2 separate regions of the Homo sapiens genome follow, and region 2 is linked to region 1. The links are contacts of gene promoters, found by promoter capture Hi-C in human tissues and cell types (Jung and others, 2019). All regions are on one chromosome and are shown on one strand. Each heading gives the region's core, a stretch centred on a gene start or on the middle of the fragment in contact. The rest is flanking DNA. Distances are from core to core; before and after follow the strand shown.

The links. Contacts are between HindIII fragments. The study calls those that stand out against the background at their distance.
Region 2: a contact is called between a fragment that was not itself captured here and the fragment with the promoter of CRB2 in region 1, in 3 of the 25 tissues and cell types used here (aorta, mesendoderm cells and thymus).

The regions. Positions count from the first base shown.
Region 1 is chr9:123,353,859-123,357,792 of GRCh38, reverse strand. CRB2 (crumbs cell polarity complex component 2) reads right to left here and starts at 1,596. Exons shown (of 13, transcript NM_173689.7): 1 at 1,439-1,596. The coding sequence starts at 1,532. RefSeq lists enhancers at 3,296-3,465, 3,134-3,633 and silencers at 3,596-3,645, 3,666-3,775. The HindIII fragment of the contact is 16,000 bases long and covers 1-3,934 here.
Region 2 is chr9:123,192,714-123,196,604 of GRCh38, reverse strand. The region is part of intron 2 of STRBP (spermatid perinuclear RNA binding protein); the gene reads left to right. Among named protein-coding and RNA genes, the nearest start is that of STRBP, 74 kb to the left of the region's middle. The HindIII fragment of the contact is 5,762 bases long and covers 1-3,891 here.

The sequences.
Region 1 (3,934 bases), core at 347-2,846:
AGCACCTGTCCCTGTGGTGCTGTGTGCCCTTGGGCATGCCACACAGGTGTGCGGAGTGTGGGTGTGTGAGCATCACAGGGCAGGGGACAGAGCACCGATCCACAGACCGGGATCTCACGTGCTTTGTATGCAGAGAACAGAGAGGAGCAGCCACCCCGCCCCCCGCCACCATGCCCCACCCCTCTATGGAGCCCAAGTCGCCTGCCAGCAGAGCCCAGCTCATAAGTCCCCGTCCCTCTCTGAGCCTTGGTTTCCTTCACTGCAAAATGGGGTCCTCATCCTCCCTAGGGCCCCATAGAGAGGATAGGAAATGAAAGCTTTGTGAGTGCGGGAAACATGAGGGTCCCCAGGTGGGACTGGGAGACACTTGGCCCCCACACCCTACAGCCTGTGGAGCTCTGGGGCAGGGAGGGCTCCCCCAGCCTCAGGAGAGCCCAGGCCCTCCTTGGCTCCCTCCCCAGCCTGTGGTGGTGGGGGCAGGGGACTTCCCAGGCCCGGCCCCTGTAACTATAGTAACTAACACCAAGCGTTCCCTTGGACCCCCCAGGAGGAATTCCAGGCTCCGAGAGCTTGGACAAAAGCAAAAAGGGCTTGGCAAATGTGGTCTGGCTTCAGGGAGCCCTTTCAGATTGGCCTTGGAATGCTGGGGAGGGGGCAGCAGGGGACACACACATGTTCCCAAATCCCCAGCCACCCCACAGGGACCCAGAGCATCCCCAGCAGCCCTCAGCACAGGCAGGGCTACCGCACAAATGGAGGGGTGCGGGCAGGCACCCAGCTCCCTGAGTCTCCCTCACGCTTCTCCACTCAGTCCCGAGTTGGGGTCGGCTGTGCACATCCCACACCCCTCATGTTGAGAGCAAAGACCTAGTTCAACCCTGGACAACCTACACCCCACAGCGTGTGCTAGGACACAGCTCACCACACCCAACTCCTCGGACACAACTCACGGCTCACCCCAGACAGCTCATCCACCTCCCAACTCTAACACACCCACAACCTGTGCCCCACAACCCAGCATGCGACACAGAACAAGCTCTGGGGTGAGGCTTATGCCACCTGCAACTCCCCAAACTCAGCCCCTAGAAACCCAGAAGTCCCCCAGCCCTTTACAGGATGCAACACAGCACCTCCCAAAACACGCACCCCATCCCTCACCCGCATCAGCTCCCCCAAATCATGCCCAGCCCCCGATCCCCCAACCCCGAAACTTACAACCCCCCTCAACATGAAACAGCCCCGAGCCTCAGAACACACTCACCTCCGTGGAGCCCCACAGAGTCTGGGGGCCACAGCCGCGCACTCCTGTGCACCCCACAGCTCAGGCCTGCACCCACGCGGACCAGCCCACCCACCACCCCAGCAGCCAAGGCTTGGGGTATCTGTCTTGGGGGACAGACCCTCTCCCAGGCCCCTCCAGACATGGGCCCCAACTCACCAGCCAGGAGGGAAAGGGCAGGGGCCCAGAGCAGCAGTAGCAGGACAGAGGCCAGGGCCTGGGGGTCCGGGGTCCCAGGCCTGGCCAGCGCCATGGCAGCCCGCTCTGCGCTCTGCTCGGCTGCTGTGAGAACGGGAGGGCGGCCTGGCTGGCTCCGCACCCCCCTCGTCCCTCCAACCAGCACTAATGCTGTGGACAGAGGCCCAGCCCCTCCCTCCCCTCCCCGCCACCGCCTCCTCCTCCCACCCAGGCCTCCTGGGCTGCTCCACCTCGTGGACGTCCCTAGACATCAGCCCCAAGTCCTCAAGCCCCCTAGCCTGTGGGGCTGACCTGGTCTTGGCACCCACTGGTTTCTCCCTCCTGACCCTCTGCCCCACTCTCCTCCCACCTCTCAGGTCAGCCTCCTTGGAGAAATTTCTGTCCTTGGAGAGGGGGCTGTTCAGGACTCTCGTCTCACCAGGTGATGCCAGCTACTCCCAAGTCCTTAGTTATCCCCTCTCCTGGATCCCCCTCCCCACCTCTCCAGCCCGGGCCTCTCTCCCAAGCCCAGGCCTTCGAGTCCAGTCGCCTCCCAGACCCTGTCTCTGCTGGGAAGCTGCAGCCCCTCCCACCCAGCTCGTCCCCCCACCTGCTGCTCCCCAGTGCTCCCATCGGAGCCAAGGCACCTCCCATCGGGCAGCCCAACGCCCCCTCCCCACTCCCCCCTCCCCACACTCGGTCAGCCCCTAGCTCCTGGCCATGCCACCTTCTCAGTGTCTCCTGCTGTCCCCACCCCGTCCCACCCGACCACACACAGCTCCTCCCACCATCGGCCTCAGGATCAGCTCCCTGCAGGGCACCTCACCCCTGCACCACGGTGGTCCCTGCCTCCCTTTACCCTCTCCACCCTTCACCAGCCAAACTGAACCTTTCCCAGCTTTCTTCCACTTGACCTTGATCTCTGGCTCTGCTGTTTGCAACTCCAGCGACCTCACTGCAATCCAAAGCAGCCCATTCTACTGAAAGGCAGCTCTAACCAAGCAAGCATTGCTCTCCCCTGCCAGGAAGTCCTTCTTGTTGTCTAACCTTATAGTCTCCTGCTGCACTCGATGTTTGCTTGCTCTCCAGCTGGCCTCTTGTTGGGGTGGACAGGAGGAGCTCTTCAGGGGGACCTGGTTCAGGAAGCCAGGTCATCTCAGAGACACTACAACATAGAACAACATTCCTTTCTTCTACCACCCTCAGCCCCAGTGGGGAGAGAATCCTCTTGCTGAAGGGACTTTCCTGAAATGAGCCACCGGCCCCTGCCAATACATGCCTGTTTGTCCCTATTCAGTAACCGTGGATACAGCCCACGCAGGCCCTGGGCTCTGGGATGTGTCCCTGACACGGGAGGACACAGCCTGGAAAGACAGCAGGAGCCATTGAGGGAGGTCCAGATGAGCTAGAGGGATGGGCAAGGGTCCCCTGCAGTGCAGGGGAGGGAGCAGTGGGCACCACACAGGCCCTGGCCGACCCTCTAGCCCGGGGCAAGTGCCACAGCCCTGGGTCCCCAGGGACCAAAGGAGGGAACCCAAAAAGGCCTGGGTAGACTCCTTATCCACTGCCCCTGCCCCATCCCTGCCCTTGAGGCCTGTTCTCTCCAGGGCAGGGATTGCCCCTTGGTTTCTGGGACACTAACCTCTCTCAGTCCATCTTTAATCCCCTGCCTCTCCAATACAACAGGATCCCTCTCCCCAGGTGGGAGAAGCCCCTCTCCATGCCACAGGAAAAGCAGAGGCCTCACAGCGTAAGAGATCTGGGTTCGAGCCCAGCTCAGCCACTGATTAGCCGGTGACCTCAGCACGTGACTTCCTTCTCTGGGCCTCAGTCTCCTCACCTGTAAAATGGTGGCGTTAGTGAGCCAAGGCGACAGTGCCAGCTCTCTTTATCCAGCTTCTCAGTGATCCCCCAGAGACCCAGGCAATCCCAATGGGGGGCTGGGGGGAGCACGGCAAGTCAACCACCACCCTCTGGTTCTCTGGATGCACAGACACAAACTCCCACACTTTCACAGAGCGGGGAGGTCACCCGGCGCAGGTCCAGTCTCCTCTGCAGCCCGGCCCCCAGCACTGTCCTGCAGCCGCCACACTCCACCTTGTGGCCAGACCTGGAAGTGTCTTGTGAGGTCTGGAGGGTATGGAGGGGGGCTCCCCCGACAGCACCGGGTACAGGAGTCCCACGTGACGGGGAGGAAGCCAGGGAGTCGCTGGACAGCAGGCAGGACGGAGGTCAGACAAGGGCACACCATCTTGACCGCTCCCTGGTCCGGATCTGGAGAAGGCAGTAAGAGTGGGCCAGCTCCTCTGAGATGGTCCCCCAGGTGCATCCACTTCCCCTGTCCTCCCCACCTGGGAAGGGAATCGACATAACCTCAGTTTACCCCCCCCCCACCCACCAGCAGCACTGCAAAGTCAGCATTGGCCCCATTCTATGGATGAGGAAACCGAGGCACAGAGAGGTGAGCAGCCCAGCACC
Region 2 (3,891 bases), core at 747-3,246, 160 kb after region 1:
GCCTTCTTTTGAGAAGTACCTATTCAAATTTTTTGTCCATTTTTTAATTGGGTTATTAGATTTTTTTTTCCTATTGAGTTGTTTGAGCTCCCTGTATATTTTGGTTATTAATCTGTTGTCAGATGGATAGTTTGCATCTAATGGAACTATTTTCTTCCATTCTTTGGGTTGTCTCTTTACTTTGTTGATTGTTTCCTTTGCTTTGCAGAAGCTTTTCAACTTGATGTGATACCATTTGTCCATTTTTGCCTTGGTGGCCTTTGCTGTGGGGCATTACTCAATACAGCATTGCCCAGTCCAATGTCCTGGATAGTTTCTCAATGTTTTCTTTTAGTAGTTTTATAGTTTCAGGCCTTAGATTAATTCTTTAATCCACTTTGATTTGATTTTTGTATATGATGAAAGATAGGGGTCTAATTTCCTTCTTTCGCATATGGATATCCAGTTTTCCCAGCACCATTTATTGAAGACCCTGTCCTTTCCATAGTGTATGTTCTTTGAACCTTTGTCACAAATGAATATCCACTGGAGATGTATGGATTTACTTCTGGGTTCTCTATTATGTTCCATTGGTCTTTGTGTCTGTTTTTATATCAGCATGTGTCTGTTTTTATGCCAGCACTATGCTGTTTTTGTTACAACAGCTCTGTCATATAATTTGAAGTCAGATAATGTAATTCCTCCAGTTTTGTTCTTTTTACTCACGATAGTTTTGGCTAGTCTGGGTCTTTGGTGGTACTGTGTAAATTTTAGGATTTTATTTTTTTCTATTTCTGTGAAGACTGTCATTAGTATTTTAGCAGAGATTGCATTGAACCTGTAGATTGCTTTGGATGGTATGGACATTTTAACAATATTGACGCTTCCAATCCATGAATATAGAATATCTTTTCAATTTTTTTGTGTCCTCTTCAATTTCTTCCATCAGCACTTTATAGTTTTCATTGTAGAGATCTTTCACTTCTTTGGCTACGTTTAGTCCTAGGTATTTAGTTTTATTCACAGCCATTATAAATGGGATTATTTTCTTGATTTCTTTCAGAGTGTTTGCTGTTGGCATATAGAAATGCTACTGATTTTTGTATGTTGATTTTGTATCCTGCAACTTTACTGAATTTGTTTGTCAGTTCTAATAGTTTTTTTGGTGCAGTTTTCAGGTTTTTGCAAATATGAGATCATATTATCTGCAAATAAGGATAATTTGGCTTCTTTCCAATTTGAATGCTCCTTATTTCATTCTCTTGTCTGATTATTTTAGCTAGGACTTCCCAATAGTCAGATTTTAGATAGTGTTGTAAGGTATAGGTAACAGGATTTAATGATGGATCAGATGTGAGATGTGGGAGGAAGAAAGGAGTCAGGGATGACTTTCAAGTTTTTGGCATGAACAATTAAAGGGATGAAGTAGTTGCCTTCTCTTGAGGGAGGGAAGACCAGGAGGAGCAAACTTGTGTGGTTTTTTGTTTTGTTTTGTTTTGTTTTTTGTTTTTGATGCATTAGGTTTAAGATGCTTATTAAACATCCAAGTGGATGTGTTGATTATTTATTTGAATGTGAATTTGGAACTCAGGTCCATATGAATTTGGGAGATCCTCAGTATATAGATGGTATTTAAAGTCTCAAACCTAGATAACATTGCCAAGGGAATGTTGAAGGTAAGATAGAGAAGAGATGAAGTCTGAGGGCTGAGTCTTGAGGCACTTCAGCGTTTAGAGGTTGTGGAGATAAAGAAGAAAAGGATACAAGGGAGTAATTTATAAAGTAGGAGGAGAACTAAGAGAGTGGTGTCTTAGATGGAAGCCAAGGGGAGTAAAGTGTAGGGAACAGTCAACTGTGTCAACTGTTGCTGAGAAGTCAACTAAGAGGAGGACTGAGAATTATTCACAGCATTAAATACCATGGAAATCCTAGGGGACCTTGACAAGAGCTGTTTTGATGGAGCATTGGGATGAGAGGCTGATTGGGATGGTTTTAAGAGAGAATGGAAGGAGAGGAAATAAAAACCCAAAGTGTAAACTCAGTTATGCTCTAGAATGAGAGCAGAGAATTGGGCTAGTAGCTGTAGCAAAGCAAGAGGTCAAGGATGGTTTTTAATGTTTTTTCCCTTTTTATTTTTATTGATGGGTGCTATTACAACATGTGGGAATGCTGATAGAAATGACTCAGTAGAATGGGTAAAATGGATGATACAGGAGAGGAAAGAGAGAAGAGGGGATGATTACTGAGTGACATCCCAAGTAGGCAAAAGGAGGTGGGATCCAGTAGAGTTTGAGTTCAGGAATTTGCATTAGATAGGAATGGGGACAGTTCATTTATAATAACAGGAAGGAAGAATATATGGTTAATGATGCAGCAAGGTTGGCAATTTGCATGAAGTAGGAAGCAGGGTGACCTGTTGAATATGAAGAGGTAAGAGTATAGATGTTTGAAGAGACAAGAGAAGTGTGAGAAAATCATTAGGAGAGTGAGGAAGTGAATGAACATTTAACTTTTTCATTGAGGCTCCTACTTGCATTTTAGGTGGGACAGATCTTGGACACGGCAGGATATTTTGCATTCCAGGGTCCCAAATGCCAGGATTACCTACCTAGTCATTCTTACAACTAAAAAAACTTGACTTCACATTTTCACATCCCTTTAGAACTATTGATTATTGGGCCTTTTGAGGCTAATGGTCATGAAAAAGACTAATTAGCATGATTATGTGATACTTTTTTTTCTTAGTTATATTTAATGGTACATGGTTAATGATGTGGTGTGGCCAAGAGGCTTGGATTTAACAGGGTTAGAGTTTTGCTAGGAGAAGGAAAGAGAAGCAGTTGCTGGTATGAATGATAAATGATGGATCACGTAATTTCGGTTGGATAAGGACAGAAATGAGGGCATGAAAAGGATGAGGGACTGTGAAAAGTGGTAGCATTAGCGATTGTAGGTCCCGGTGGGGCGTGTTTGTCTAAAATAGGAAAGAAGATGAGAACATTGGAGGAAAGGAATACAAGGACTGGAGAAGCCTGAATTTTAGAAGGGTCATCTCTGCGGTTATTAAAATTCTAATATTTATGCCAGAAGTAAAGTTGAGTGTGTCACTGAGCTAAGTACAGCACTAAAGTCCTGAAGGAATGGGATAGGGTTTGGGGGATTAATCCAAGATGGAGAAGTCAAATAAGTAATGGAATTTGTGCTTATGGAGGACGAGTCAGAAATTCCCTGTTAGTCACTGTGGTGATGACTGCCATGGAAATAATGGGAAGAGATGGTGACCTTTTGGATGGAACCTCCTTAGATTCTGTGGTTATGGCACTCTAAGGAAGGATAAATTTAGGGTTGAATTCAAATTCTATTGAGCCTCTGCTGAGTGCAGGGCGATGTACTAGGTGCTGTGGAGATAATAGTAAATCATATCATTAAAACTGAGTAATAGAAATATAAAGGAAGCTGAAAAAGTGCTGGATGGCTCAAAGGAGGAAGAAATTATATAAACTGAAGTATTAGGTAAGGCTTCATGGAGGGGTAGATTTGAGATGGGCATTTGATGAATAGAACAATGACAAATCATGATGGCGTAGTGGCTGCAGTCCAGGTAAGGGAATCGTTTAACTCAAGCTTAGCGGTAGCACATTGCAAGGTGTTCTGGCATAGAGTCATTATTCCCGTGTTGACTGGAGCTGTGGTGGTGAGAGAAATGACAAGAATGACGATAGGACCTTGGATGCCACTGAATATTTGAGTTTAGTGCCAGTTGCTTAGGTAATTAGTGGTTATTGAAGGTTTTGAAGAGGAGTCTGATGTTCTCAAGGTAAAATTTTCCTCAATGATGGGCTGAAATGGGAATAGTATAGGAGAGGATAAATCCCCGTAAATGGTAAAACATAGTAAAACAACTTTACACAG